Regions from separate parts of the Homo sapiens genome. Here region 2 is linked to region 1. Evidence: promoter capture Hi-C in 16 types of primary human blood cells and fetal thymus (Javierre and others, 2016). All regions are on one chromosome and are shown on one strand. The core of a region is centred on a gene start or on the middle of the fragment in contact, and the rest is flanking DNA. Distances in the headings are between cores, read along the strand shown.

The links. Contacts are between HindIII fragments. The CHiCAGO score rates a contact against its expected background, and 5 or more counts as called.
Region 2: a fragment that was not itself captured here is called in contact with the fragment with the promoter of KRT4 in region 1 in 1 of 17 cell types (M2 macrophages); the score reaches 5.1 in M2 macrophages.

Annotation. Positions count from the first base shown.
Region 1 is chr12:52,811,061-52,818,093 of GRCh38, reverse strand. It overlaps KRT4 (keratin 4), which reads left to right and starts at 3,978. Exons shown (of 9, transcript NM_002272.4): 1 at 3,978-4,497; 2 at 6,117-6,331. The coding sequence starts at 4,036. RefSeq lists an enhancer at 4,406-4,907 and a silencer at 5,073-5,273. The HindIII fragment of the contact is 5,472 bases long and covers 221-5,692 here.
Region 2 is chr12:52,645,411-52,652,443 of GRCh38, reverse strand. KRT2 (keratin 2) reads left to right here and starts at 233. Exons shown (of 9, transcript NM_000423.3): 1 at 233-886; 2 at 1,891-2,105; 3 at 2,470-2,530; 4 at 3,342-3,437; 5 at 4,107-4,271; 6 at 4,589-4,714; 7 at 5,484-5,704; 8 at 6,875-6,909; 9 at 7,010-7,033. The coding sequence starts at 302. The HindIII fragment of the contact is 1,334 bases long and covers 3,850-5,183 here.

The DNA of each region.
Region 1 (7,033 bases), core at 2,729-5,228:
CAAGCAACTGACCATGTGCTGAGGGTAAGGACAAAAAGGAGCGGAGCTGCATCTGCAGAGCTTGCAGCCTGCTGGCCAGACCCCATGGCTGTCTTGGTGGACCATGAGGTACAGGGCTGTATAAGTTGCTGTGTATTTTTTTCCCTGCATATTCTGTGTGGGCCAGTCACTCATATAAAACATTATACCTACCGTTTTATACATTGTAAGGTCACAAGCTTTGAAGTCAGACAGATAGTACTGACTTCCTATCTCTACCACTTCCTGGCTGTGTGATCTCAGGCAAGTTACATACCCCTCTGAGCCTCAATATCTGCAGCTCCAAACTGGACATAGCAAAGCACCTCTTTGACTGGGTTGTTGGAAGAAGCACCTAGTGTTCAGCATATAACAGTAGTTCCAAGAGAGAATCCCTTCTACCCAAGAGGCACCGCTGCCTTTCCTTCATCTTCCTTCTTGTATCAGCGATGGCACACCTCAAGTCACCTTCATGAGAAGTACCTCAATCGTAGCTCCATGGTTTGGGTGCCCCACAGGCACAAAATAAGACTGATTACATATTCTATATTGTTTCCCTGAAAATCCCCTTGGCTCCTGGCTTGCTTTTTGTTCTAAGCAGTAGACACAACTCTAGGGGCAGTGAACCCATGCCATTTTCTCCTAGTGTTGGAGTGTTACAGCCATAGAGTAAAAGACCCAATAAGCACACTATGAGCCATCTCAGGGATTCACTTGTGCTCAGGCAAAGCCTACCCCGGCCTGTGATAGTCCCCATCAAATCCCAGGGGCTACCAGAGAAGAAAGCAGTGAACGGCAGGTGCAGAGGCTGAGGTGAGGCAGCCGGGGGGTGAGCTCCAGCCATCACTCAGGGTGAGATCCTGATGGCCCTGCCATGTCCTCTGGGGCAGGTAACCAGTCAATTGGACCTCAGCTTCCCAAGTGGGAGGCTCACATGTCTCCTCAGCTCCTGCAGCTGCAGCCCGCAAAGACCTGCAGTAGCTCCCACCCTCCTTCCAAGCCATGCCCACCTTAGGAGCAACAGTGGAAATCGATAGACCCTGGGATGCTAGTGCCCCCAGAGCCCCTTTGACCCGAACAGTCAGTTCCATCAGATTTATTTGGGTGCACATTCTGGATTGGTTGTGACACAATTTAGACAGAGTGGCTTTATACCAGGCAGAACAGTGTGAGTGAGAGGCTATAGAATATGGAGCCTTTGGGCCAGGTGCAGTGGCTTACGCCTGTAATCCCTGCACTTTGGGAGGCCGAGGCGGGCAGATCACGAGGTCAGGAGATGGAGACCACGGTGAAACCCCGTCTCTACTAAAAATACAAAAAAAAAAAAAAAAAAAATTAGCTGGGCGCGGTGGCGGGCGCCTGTAGTCCCAGCTACTTGGGAGGCTGAGGCAGGAGAATGGCGTGAACCCAGGAGGCGGAGCTTGCAGTGAGCCGAGATGGCGCCACTGCTCTCCAGCCTGGGCGACAGAGTGAGACTCCGTCTCAAAAAAACAAAAACAAAACCCAAAACAAAAACCAAAAAAAAAAAAAAAGAATATGGAACTTTTGGGACCAGACTGATGTAAGTTTAAATCCTGGCTCCACCACGTGCTGCTGTGTGACCCTGGGAGCTACTTTACTTCTCTGAGTTTCTGTAAGGAAGGCTAATGGTGCTGACTCCATAGAGCCTCTAAGTAGACTAGTTGATCAAATGTAGGTAAAGCATCCAGCACAGAGCTTGGCACGAAGTCGGCGCTTGGTGAATCTGGGCAGAAAGGATCAGTGAAAGTCCAACCCCTTCCTTCTAGGAGATGGTTCTGGCTCTAGAATGCTCACCTACTGCAGGTGGACTGACCCATGACGCGGGCATTCTCCTGTGATGGGGCCTGGGGCCTCCAGTCCTCATGGCCACAGCCCCTCCACCCCCTCTCCACTTACTTAGAGGCCATCTTGGCAGAGACAGACCCGAGGTAGGGGAGGGAGGGGTTGGGGGAATGGGGACAAGGGAGGAAGTGGCTGGAGAAGGAGCTGGCTGAACTCCCAGCCAGCCTGGCCTTCCCTGCAGCCCTGCGTCTGGGGTGGGATCTCCTGACCACTCTGTCCTCAGCACTGGCCCCTGCCCTCTCTCTGTGCATGGAGGCAGCCGTTCACTCTCTCCCTGGCCAGCTTTCATTCAGCTAGGGGCAGCTTGGGTCTGTGGGATTATCCAGGTGCTGGTGACTGCTCTTCCTCAGACCTGGGGTCATTTCATCTATGAGGAATTGAGGAAAGGAGGGAGAACAAACACACCAGATTTCTCCCTGTAAATGGCAATGGCAAAGCCTGGGAAAGAAGAGAATGAATGCCTGCTGACCTCCTATATGCCAGGCACCATGGGGACATTGTCTAATTCCTTGTGAGGCAGGTGTCCCATTTGGTAGATGAGAAGATGGATTGGATGGTGTATTAGGCCATTATTACGCTGCTGATAAAGACATACCTGAGTCTGAGCAATTTACAAAAGAAAGAGATTTATTGGACTTAACAGTTCCATGTGGCTGGGGAGGCCTCGCAATCATGGCAGAAAGCAAAAGGCACTTGTTACATGGTGGTGGCAAGAGAGAGAATGAAAGCCAAGCAAAATGGGTTTTTCCTTATTAAACATCAGATCTCGTGAGACTTATTCACTACCACAAGAACAGTATGGGGGAAACCGCCCCCATAATTCAATCATCTCCCACCGGGGCCCTCCCACAATGTGTGGGAAATATGGGAGTACAATTCAAGATGAGATTTGGGTGGGGACACAGAGCCAAACCATATTGGATGGGTTTAGAGTGCTTAGTTGGCCCACCCAAGGTTATACAGCTAGTTAGTGGCAACAGGAGGGATTTGAACACAGATCTGTTACTGTTCAGTTGGGAAGAATTTAAGTTATGGCTTAAAACTAGGATTTTGCATTTAAAAACATTGCTCTGAGAAGGGATCCATAGGTTTCATCATTCTGCCAAAGGGATCCCCAGCAGCAAAAAAGTTATGAACTCCTGCCCTGAATTCTGCACCATTACAGAAAACCAGAACACACCTAGCAAACAACTGGACAGCAAATGGAGCAGCAGAGTGCACACCACCAGACCCCGCTGGAGAACGCCCATCTAGAATTGTGCAAGCACAGATTGAAGGGAGGCCTGCGGGGCAGCATGGGTACCCAGGGCTGAGAAAGACAGTCACGGTTTTCTTTGGGGAGGTGTTTTGTCTTCCCCCATCTCCTTAGTACCTAGCTCCATGCCTGGCAGTTTCTCAGTAGCTGTTGGCCAAGTTGAAGTGAATCTGGATCTAGGTTGGAAGGCTAAGGCTGGAATACAGAATATTTCCCCTTTTTATAGGTACATGGAGCCAAGAACATGTGGAGGAATAAGAATGCTAAGAATGACAAATATACATGTGGCTTTTGACAGTTTACAGAGCACTCCATTAATCACTAGCTCACTCTATCCTGAGAAGTGGCAAGGCAAATATTTGTATTACTTCCAATTTACAGGGAAAGCAACTGGGCCTCAGAGGGTGACTTGCTCCGGTTTGCAGAGCTAGGAGGTGGCAGGCTGTGCGCTCAAACTCAGGCTGTCTAACTCCACATTCTGTGGGGTGAGAGGATGGGTGATGGGGTGTCTTTTCTGGAGGAGGGAGGTGCTGTGAGCCTAGCGAGATGGAGGTACAGTGGGTGTGGGCCTGGAGCGCTGGGCCCAGGCAGGGGCTTCTGATTAGGAAGCCCTGGGGCACCAGTTCAGGTTCTCCCAGAGAGTAGTGTGATGGGATCCAGTAACCTGTGCCCTCCAGATGACTTCTGTAGGTGTGTTTAGTGACATGCTCAACGGGTGCGGGAAGGATGGGCTTGTGCCAAGGGCCAAGCCCAGAGATGTTTCAGATTTTTCCCTTTATGCCCCTGCAACCAAGCCCTGCTGCTCCAGGACATATAAGAGACGAAGGCTGAGGGCTCCAGCACTCACCGGCCTGGGCCCTGTCACTTCTCTGATAGCTCCCAGCTCGCTCTCTGCAGCCATGATTGCCAGACAGCAGTGTGTCCGAGGCGGGCCCCGGGGCTTCAGCTGTGGCTCGGCCATTGTAGGCGGTGGCAAGAGAGGTGCCTTCAGCTCAGTCTCCATGTCTGGAGGTGCTGGCCGATGCTCTTCTGGGGGATTTGGCAGCAGAAGCCTCTACAACCTCAGGGGGAACAAAAGCATCTCCATGAGTGTGGCTGGGTCACGACAAGGTGCCTGCTTTGGGGGTGCTGGAGGCTTTGGCACTGGTGGCTTTGGTGGTGGATTTGGGGGCTCCTTCAGTGGTAAGGGTGGCCCTGGCTTCCCCGTCTGCCCCGCTGGGGGAATTCAGGAGGTCACCATCAACCAGAGCTTGCTCACCCCCCTCCACGTGGAGATTGACCCTGAGATCCAGAAAGTCCGGACGGAAGAGCGCGAACAGATCAAGCTCCTCAACAACAAGTTTGCCTCCTTCATCGACAAGGTGAGCTGTGTCCTCGGCTGGAGAGGGGCAGTTAGAAGAGAGGGGTCCTGAGTCCTGGGGTCTCAGACCTGAGCCTGCCACAGGTGCTGGGGAGACCACTGAACTTCCCTGGGCCCCAATTCTCCAGCTGTTGAAGGGGCATCATGACTTTGAGCCTTCCTTTTTGTCCCGTGGCTGGTGGGAAGGTGGGATGCTCAAGGCAGTTAAGTGTTTGGAATTCCCTAGACAGGCTGTGGGATACTGGACAAATCATTTGGCTTTTCTGGCTCTAGTCATCCCAGCTATAAAGGGGGTTCATTATTTCTCTGCTTTTTCTCAGATTTTGGTTTTGAATATAATGCAGTTAACCCCATTAATCACTTAACAGTGGCCACTTCTGTTCTTAGAACAGAAGACAACTAAGCTGATTTTGCAAATGAAAAAGGGACTGGCTCCAGTGGCAGATTCTAGGTCTCACCAAGGCCTTGGAAATTTACTTTTTTCATTCCTTTGACTGGACAACACTGCTCATGTCTGGGTCTGTTTGAAGAAAGGAGACAGGTCTCTTTTCTTTTTGTAGCCCAACTTCCTTTTTCATGCAACGTCTAGAAGTTCAAGTTCTTTAAGCTCAGTTATGGTCATGCATGATGGATGATAGTGAGCAGTGCAGCCCCAGAGAGCCGAGTCATCCAAAGATTGATGACTGGGTGGATGAGTGCCTCCCTTTGGTCCAGGTTGCCCTGGTTCACCAGGCATCAAAGTCTTGGGCAGCTTCGACATATGGGGCAAGAATGAACACTTTTGGAATAGAATAAGGTGCATATTTGTTCTTCTTGCTAGTTTGAATAAACCCATAGTAACTTAAAGAGGTTTTACTGTGACTATAGGACATGCAGATGTGATAGCAAAAACTCAGGGCTCTTTGATGCATCCTTGTCTCATCTCATCTCATTTTACCTTTTGGGTTCAAAATGTGATCGGTCTGCCTTACCTGCTTTCCTTTCAATTCTGAGGCTCATAACATGGAAATGTCATGCTAAGCTGCTGTCCTGGTTTGTCTGGCTAGATTTTTTCATAGAGAGAGGGAAAGTTCAGGAAAGTCCTTTGCAGAATGGAGTTTAGGTGAGACAATGCGTACAGGGCCCTTGTTTTAAATATCTATACTCAGTTGTTCACAGGTTCACAGGGACACGCCAGATCCATTGATAAGTAAGCTTATTTAAAAAGTCTGTAGTGACTTTGTCTTTCATTTGCCTTGGGTCAGGATCACTTTGAATGCAAGAGCCTCCAGATTGTGATGTCTCTTAATTTTATTTTGTTATTTCATAGAAGTTTAATGTTCTTTGGGGCTTTGGGTGCCTGCGGCTAGGAAGTTGTTCTTGTTGCACTGTTAGGCCCTGCTTCTCTGGCTGTGCTCTATTCTCCACAACCTATGTGACCCCTTGGTGCTATGGGCTCGAGAATGGGGCCATCATGTCAACCCGAGTGAATGGTGCCCTGGAGATGCAACATAGTGGCCCTACTTGGGTGGTTCTTGGGCCGTGTAGTTCCCTGGGATTGACTGGGTTGGTGTTGCCTTGGCTGGCCCTCCTGCCACACTTCAGGCCCTCATCACTTGGCTGGTGCCTTTATCAACACAGGTGCAGTTCTTAGAGCAACAGAATAAGGTCCTGGAGACCAAATGGAACCTGCTCCAGCAGCAGACGACCACCACCTCCAGCAAAAACCTTGAGCCCCTCTTTGAGACCTACCTCAGTGTCCTGAGGAAGCAGCTAGATACCTTGGGCAATGACAAAGGGCGCCTGCAGTCTGAGCTGAAGACCATGCAGGACAGCGTGGAGGACTTCAAGACTAAGTACATGGGGAGGAAGGAGGGGACGCCATCTGACACATGTGCCCAGCCACACCCAGGCTCCCGGGGCTCTCTCCAGTGGCTTAGAATCTCAGGCTCTGAAGGCGTCTAGGAAGGCCCTCTAGTCTGTTTTGCTACATCCACATAGTCACGTTTTCTCAGGGTGAGGTCTGGTAACCACAGATTTTTCCGAAAGGAAATTTAATGATAGATTCAGGGATTTGGGTCTGCCATATACGAACAAGATCAGAACCCAAATAGATGAAAAGCAGTATAGTATGATTAGAAGAATACAGACTGTAGAGACAGATGGAGGTGGTTTGCATACTGAGTCCTCACTTACTAGCTGTGTGACCTTGGGTAAATAGCTGAACCTCTCTGAGCTTCAGTTTTATTCATCTTTGAAATGGGGATAATATTCCTACTTTATGGGTTGTGAGAATTAAATGGAATTAAATGAAATAGAGAAAGCATGTGGCATATTTCAGGACACAGAGTGAACACTGAATACACAGCACCTCTCATTAAACTCACTATGGGATAGGACTGACAAAATAAATACCAACCCTGTCTCTCAATTCACTCACCCACCAAACAAAGGGAAATGGAGTGTGCTGATGACATTGCTGAGAATTTAATCTGCCAAAATGGCCAAAAGGACAGCCCTTTCAGGGACATTAAATCAACTACATCATTGCTGGGTTT
Region 2 (7,033 bases), core at 3,267-5,766, 170 kb after region 1:
GATGATTTTACAAAAATCAAATTGCATGACAGATGCCCAGATAAACAGAAGTTTGCAATCAAAGCAAGTTCTGGGATGGAGCTGATTAGTAGATTTTTAATGGCTATTAGCTTGATAATCACGCACCAGGAATAGCTCCCAGGCAGACCAAACCCACGTATAAGTGGATCCACACCCATGTACACAACACCTAGTTGGCAGGTATATAAGGGGACCCTGAAAGCCTCCCAGCAGCACAGTTGAGTCTCCAGCCTTGACTCTTCTCAAGAGCCTGTGACTTTCCTCCCTGGACAAAGGCATCATGAGTTGTCAGATCTCTTGCAAATCTCGAGGAAGAGGAGGAGGTGGAGGAGGATTCCGGGGCTTCAGCAGCGGCTCAGCTGTGGTGTCTGGTGGAAGCCGGAGATCAACTTCCAGCTTCTCCTGCTTGAGCCGCCATGGTGGTGGTGGCGGGGGCTTCGGTGGAGGCGGCTTTGGCAGTCGGAGTCTTGTTGGCCTTGGAGGGACCAAGAGCATCTCCATTAGTGTGGCTGGAGGAGGTGGTGGCTTTGGCGCCGCTGGTGGATTTGGTGGCAGAGGAGGTGGTTTTGGAGGCGGCAGCAGCTTTGGAGGTGGCAGCGGCTTCAGTGGTGGTGGTTTCGGTGGAGGCGGCTTTGGTGGAGGCCGCTTTGGAGGTTTTGGGGGCCCTGGTGGTGTTGGAGGTTTAGGGGGTCCTGGTGGCTTTGGGCCTGGAGGATACCCTGGTGGCATCCACGAAGTCTCTGTCAACCAGAGCCTCCTGCAGCCTCTCAACGTGAAAGTTGACCCAGAGATCCAGAATGTGAAGGCCCAAGAGCGTGAGCAGATCAAAACTCTCAACAACAAATTTGCCTCCTTCATTGACAAGGTGACTCTGGAGAAGACGGCTCCCACTGATGCTCAGGCCACTTCACTTCCAGAGCCAACCAAAAAGAAAATGGCACAGATTTGTATTTCTTAGGAGCCAGTGGTGTACCGCAGTAGCCTGGGTCATTTGCGGTTTCCAGATGGAAAAGACGCCAGCTTTGTGGGTTACATTTCCCATAACAGCCTGCACTTAGGAAGCATTTGTCCCTTTGACCTTATTGTTACAGTCCATATAAATAATATTTATGGAAAATTCTGAAAACCATAAAAAATGGATATAGGCAAGTATTGAACTGATCCTTGGGACAGGCCACTGGAGCAGCAGGTTTTGGAAGCCATCGTCTTCTGAGATAGTGTTTCCTTCCTTAGCAGTGATTACTAAACTCTGGGAAGCTGAACCTGAAATATCTGCTTGGGAATGCAGGAAATTCCTGCCTTCAAGAGAAGCGTTCTCAGTTTTGTGATCCATAAAGTCTTTATTGGTGTCACTTCGGAGTGTTACTGGCTTTTCTCCTATTTCAAGGCAGACGAACCTGTCTTGGTTTATCTGCCTTGAAATAGGCAGGGATTTACAAGGCTCTTAAAAATCAGGCTGAGGAGCCCTGCCCTCTGGGACTCTCATACTCAGCACCCTTGCGAGCAGTGCCAGCAGATGGCTGCTTTCGGTTTTCCCCAGAATTTATGGGATCTTGGCTGGAAATTCAACCAGGATGCGGGGAGGGAAATGGTCTAGAGTATTGGGAGCAGCTGCAAACAAACCAGTGAGCAGTGAAGCAGCAAAGAGTCTCCTCTGCGTGGAGAGAGCCGGATGTAGCATTAGGAGTCTGTGGGACTTTCCAGGGGCGAAAGCAGGGAGCTCAGAAGCTCTGCCAGTCATGACTCGGCATCCAGCCTCAGACACTTCTCGAGGTCCTGAAGCAGCACCTGAGCTGCCCCTGGCCAGCGTGGCTTGCTTGGTGTGAAGGATGATCTAGAACTCATGTGCTCTCCTTCTGGTCATGGCAGGTGCGGTTCTTGGAGCAGCAGAACCAGGTGTTACAGACCAAATGGGAGCTGCTACAACAAATGAATGTTGGCACCCGCCCCATCAACCTGGAGCCCATCTTCCAGGGGTATATCGACAGCCTCAAGAGATATCTGGATGGGCTCACTGCAGAAAGAACATCACAGAATTCAGAGCTGAATAACATGCAGGATCTTGTGGAGGATTATAAGAAGAAGTAGGTGGCAGAGTGAAACGCTGAGTGGAGATAAACATTGCACTGAGCCATTTGATCACTCCCTGGAAAGCCATTCATCTCCCAGTTGCATTTGTGGTGGTAATGGGGAGAGGCATATGTATCTTTGTTGATTATTTGTGAGGAAGACAGTGAGACTTTAGAGATCATTTTTGTCTTTTGTATGTTTGAGAGTTAGTTTATAAAAATATATCTTTAGTTTGGAAATCTTAGTTTCAATTTAGATATTTAAAAAGTGTGTAATATTCCCAGAGAATGGGGCATTTGGGGTGAATCCAGTATAAAAGGAAAAGAAAAAAAATGAAGGGGAACTAATCTAACTGCTGTAACATCTGTGTCCCAATAGGTATGAGGATGAAATCAATAAGCGCACAGCTGCTGAGAATGATTTTGTGACGCTTAAAAAGGTGAGCGAGAGAATGTCTTGGCTGGGGGTGGGGATAGGAGTGCTTCACAGCCCCATTGTGTCTAAGCAGCCAGTTTGGAAATCAACTGTGAGTGCAAAAGCAGCAGCCAGAGAAAGGAGTGAGACCCATGGCACATTCTCTTGCAAACAAAATTGTCTCTGTAGGTCAAGCTTCTGGATACAGTTTTCAAAGCTGTTCTGCATTTTTGGTAGAGTGCTTCCCAGTAGTAACCCACTTAAAGCCTCTACTGAATCATGATAAATGCAAACACAAAAATCTCTTTGTATTCTCCTTCTAAAGAGCTGAGGAAGGAATGGGACTTCCCTTAGAATGCCTGCTTAAAGTTGCTGTTGGTTGTGCTGACAAAGGTTTGAGGTTGTAGGCCAAAAGCAAGGGTTCTCCTGCTGGGTCCTGCAGGGCCTTTGGTGTATATTCTGGGGAAATTTCGGAGAGGTGAGATGGACAGACGGGATGAGAGAGCTGAGGACTGTGGAAACCCACAAAGAACATCGTATCCTGTTGTAGAAACACACAGTGTCTCAAGCAGGAGAGAGGGGCTGGTTGGCAAAGCTTGGTCATCTCGAGGCTCTGATGGTCCTGAGGGCTGTGAGCCATGGACGTAGGCATGAAGTCCCTGGCAGAGGTGTATGGTAAACTGCACGACAAAAGAAGTCCCATGGGGACAGGGATCAGGTTGGGGAGCCTGGGATTTTAGAGAGGAGCCAGCAGGGACTGAGTAGAGGGGAGTGGCAGAGAGAGGAAGAGGCCTGTACAGGGAACCATACACCAGAGGCCTCAACCTTTCTTGCAGGACGTGGACAATGCCTACATGATAAAGGTGGAGTTGCAGTCCAAGGTGGACCTGCTGAACCAGGAAATTGAGTTTCTGAAAGTTCTCTATGATGCGGTAAGGAGGCTGCTCCGGGACAGTCCCTTACTTCCCACCCTTCTCACCAAATGAAAGTCCTTTCTGCTTGGTGAAAAAGTGGCAGAAGTGGGGTTTATGGACCAGCTGACTTCAATCTGCCATCATTCCAGGCCACTGGGGGGGCTTTCATAGCATAGGTCTTGTGGGTGAGGAATTTTCTCCTCCGATGTTATGGGAATAAGGTTCAGGAAACACCAGGACAGCTTCCCCTCCCTCCATTCCCCAGATGTCCATTTCCCCTGGGGAAGAGACAAGCCCTGTGCCCATTCCTGTGCCTACTGTACTTCAGAGGTCAAAATGCATTTGTCTCCTATCCCCCTCCCCAACCCAAGGGTGCACAGATGATTTCTGAAACAGGAAGTCCATTTAAGGTATTTGCCATGGACAAGCTTCTGTCTGGGGGCACTTACCATAACTGGCTTAAGTGCTGAATGTTAACTAGGAGGCTCAGAAATACAGGTGCCTCTCACTACAATTCTCAGGACAACCTTGGGAGAGGCCCAGGAGTAGACGGTTACATGATTTTCATCCCACCTAGTGTATGCTTAGTCTGAGGGTCTGCGTTTCCCTTATGCTGGGAGACAGAGGCCTCCTGTCTGCCTGTAGCTATGGCAGGATGTCATGACCAGACCTTCCTGTGTGTTGTAGGAGATATCCCAGATACATCAGAGTGTCACTGACACCAACGTCATCCTCTCCATGGACAACAGCCGCAACCTGGACTTGGATAGCATCATCGCCGAGGTCAAGGCCCAGTATGAGGAGATCGCCCAGAGGAGCAAGGAAGAAGCGGAGGCCCTGTACCACAGCAAGGCAAGTAGAGGGAATGTAGGAAGAGCCACAGCTCCCTGCCATGAGCTGGGTTGCACCCCCAGCTGGAAAGTGTACAGTAAGGTTATTGGTTTTTTGTTTAATGGTAGTTGGGCACCATTCCCAAGAAAGGATGTTGAGAATGGCACCAAGTCCTTTTGGGCATGTGAGACAGTCCCTACCTCTCATGAATGCAGCCATGACATTTAGCTGGGTTGACCCTCCCTGGACCAGTAACCAGCTCTCCTTCACTCCAGTCAGTCTGGAATGTGAGCCAGGCTGGAACTTCCTTGCAAACTGTCCTCTTCTCCCCATATCAGTATGAGGAGCTCCAGGTGACTGTCGGGAGACATGGAGACAGCCTGAAAGAGATCAAGATAGAGATCAGCGAGCTGAACCGCGTGATCCAGAGGCTGCAGGGGGAGATCGCACATGTGAAGAAGCAGGTGAGGCCCAGCCCTGTCCAGCGAGGGGCGGGAGGTTGTCTCTGGGTGTGCGTGAGAGTGTGGTTGTGTGTGAGTGTGCATGTGAGAGATGAGAGACACTGAGATATTGCACTCTAGCATGTATCGATCCCAAATTCCCCAGCTTAACATAATTTATGGCTTATTATAACAATTCTTAGAGTGCTCTAATAGACATTCCAAAGTAAGGATTATCGAAGGGAAAGAATTGTGCTCACTTGTTTATATGAGGAAAAGGGAGTCATAACAAATAGAGCAAACGTTAGTTTGATTGATTTGCTGCAGATTGCCGATGGAGCTTCCCGTTTGTGCTCAGCACAGGCCCTGAGCACCAGCCGACTGGTTTCATAGAGGGGCAGTGAGTATTGAGGGCAGCTGGCCTGGGGCTGGACGTTAGCTTTGGAATAGAAAAGGTAGAGGCAGAGAGTGGATTCCATCAGCAGCAGAAGCTTTGCCAAGCAGACCATTTCAAATGTTTTCATTTCCATCTGTAAAATGGGATCATGATTCAGGCCCTGTGATGTGAGGATCAAAGGGCACTATGGGGAAAGCCAAAGGGTGTCATCAACGGTGACATGGGAAGAAGATGTGCCAGAGACAGCGGCAAGTCTTAGCACAGTTGTTTGCGACTAAACTCCAGAGGGGACCTAACACTCCCAGGGCCAGTGGTTCTGGCTTCCTGCACTTCGAACACCTCTGCTCTCTGTCCGCCTCCGTCAGGCAGAATCCATTCTCTGTCCTTCTGTCATAGTGTAAGAATGTGCAAGATGCCATCGCAGATGCCGAGCAGCGTGGGGAGCATGCCCTCAAGGATGCCAGGAACAAGTTGAATGACCTGGAGGAGGCCCTGCAGCAGGCCAAGGAGGACTTGGCGCGGCTGCTGCGTGACTACCAGGAGCTGATGAACGTGAAGCTGGCCCTAGATGTGGAGATCGCCACCTACCGCAAACTGCTGGAGGGCGAGGAGTGCAGGTGAGGGCACTGGGAAGGGAGAAGGGGACCCTGGCCCTTCCTCTCATCTCTCCCAGAGCCAGGGCTGGAGGCAAAGACAGGGAAAGCAGAGAATGGGGCAGGCCCTCCTGACAACTGAGAACTGACATTCTCTGTGTTCCCCAAGCAGAAACTCAGGACATAAAGCATGATTGGAGAGTTACACATTTATCAACATGAAATGATGCATAAGGCACATTAAATTAAACTAAGCAGTAAGTTAAACATCCTGGTCTTTTCTGAAAGAGAAAACAAAATCATGGGAAAACAGGTTAGTCCTAGACAGTCTGAAACTTTGGTCTCTAGGTCCATAGGGTGAGTGGCTTCTGTGCCCTCCACCGGGTGACCCAGAATGGGGGAGATGATGTCTCGGAATGTGCTGACTGGTGGGGACGTGCTGACCGGAGCAGGTGCCAGCCCCAGTTCTTTGCAGGTTTCTGGAGTGACAAATGGAACCATTTGCTAACTTTCAAAGAGGCACCCTTTGCTTCCTCTGTAGTCTGAGACCTTTGTCCGTATTATCAGCATCTTGGGTGACTTAATCTGGCTGAAGCAATTGGAAGGGGAAAAGCTACCCCAGGCCATCAGCAAGCCAGCATGACAAACAGGGAGTGGCTTTCTTCAGGAGGTTGCTCTGTCCCTGTCTAGAGGCAATGCCTCCTATGCCCAGCTTGTAAGAGGAAGTGGGAAAGTTTTCAGTTGAAGCTGAAGAGGGTGGGAAGAAGAGAGGAATGGGGAGGCTCTACAGAGTCACAGTTCTTTCTGAACTGAATGTTCACAGGCAGCCTCATTGTATAATTTCTGATGTGGCATGGATTCTGAATAACAGACTCTCCAAGATGGATTTAAATACACAAATGGGTTGCAAAGTAGGAAGTGAATTTGCTTTTCAGTGACCTTGGATCAACCACGCAACTGTTCATTTTTTATCAGAGCAAAAATTGAGAGGGATTGACATGCAAGGTTGTGCATAAATGGAAGGGGGTCTGTCGTCATTGTGTGACCTGGCAGCATAGAAGAAAGTGGGGTGTGTAAGCCCTGGTGGCTGCTTAGAGAGGCTAAACTGCACATTTGCGGGTGGAAGTGGTAAAACAACATGCATACAGAACCTAAGTGTTCCACCACAACTTGTTTTTTCTCTCTCCCTTACAGGATGTCTGGAGACCTCAGCAGCAATGTGACTGTGTGTAAGTAATGGGGTGTGGTCCTGTTCCATGGGGTGTTGTGTCAGGTGGAGGCAGGGAGAGGCAGTCATAATCTCTGTGGTAACACCACCTCTCTCTGCAGCTGTGACAAGCAGCACCATTTCAT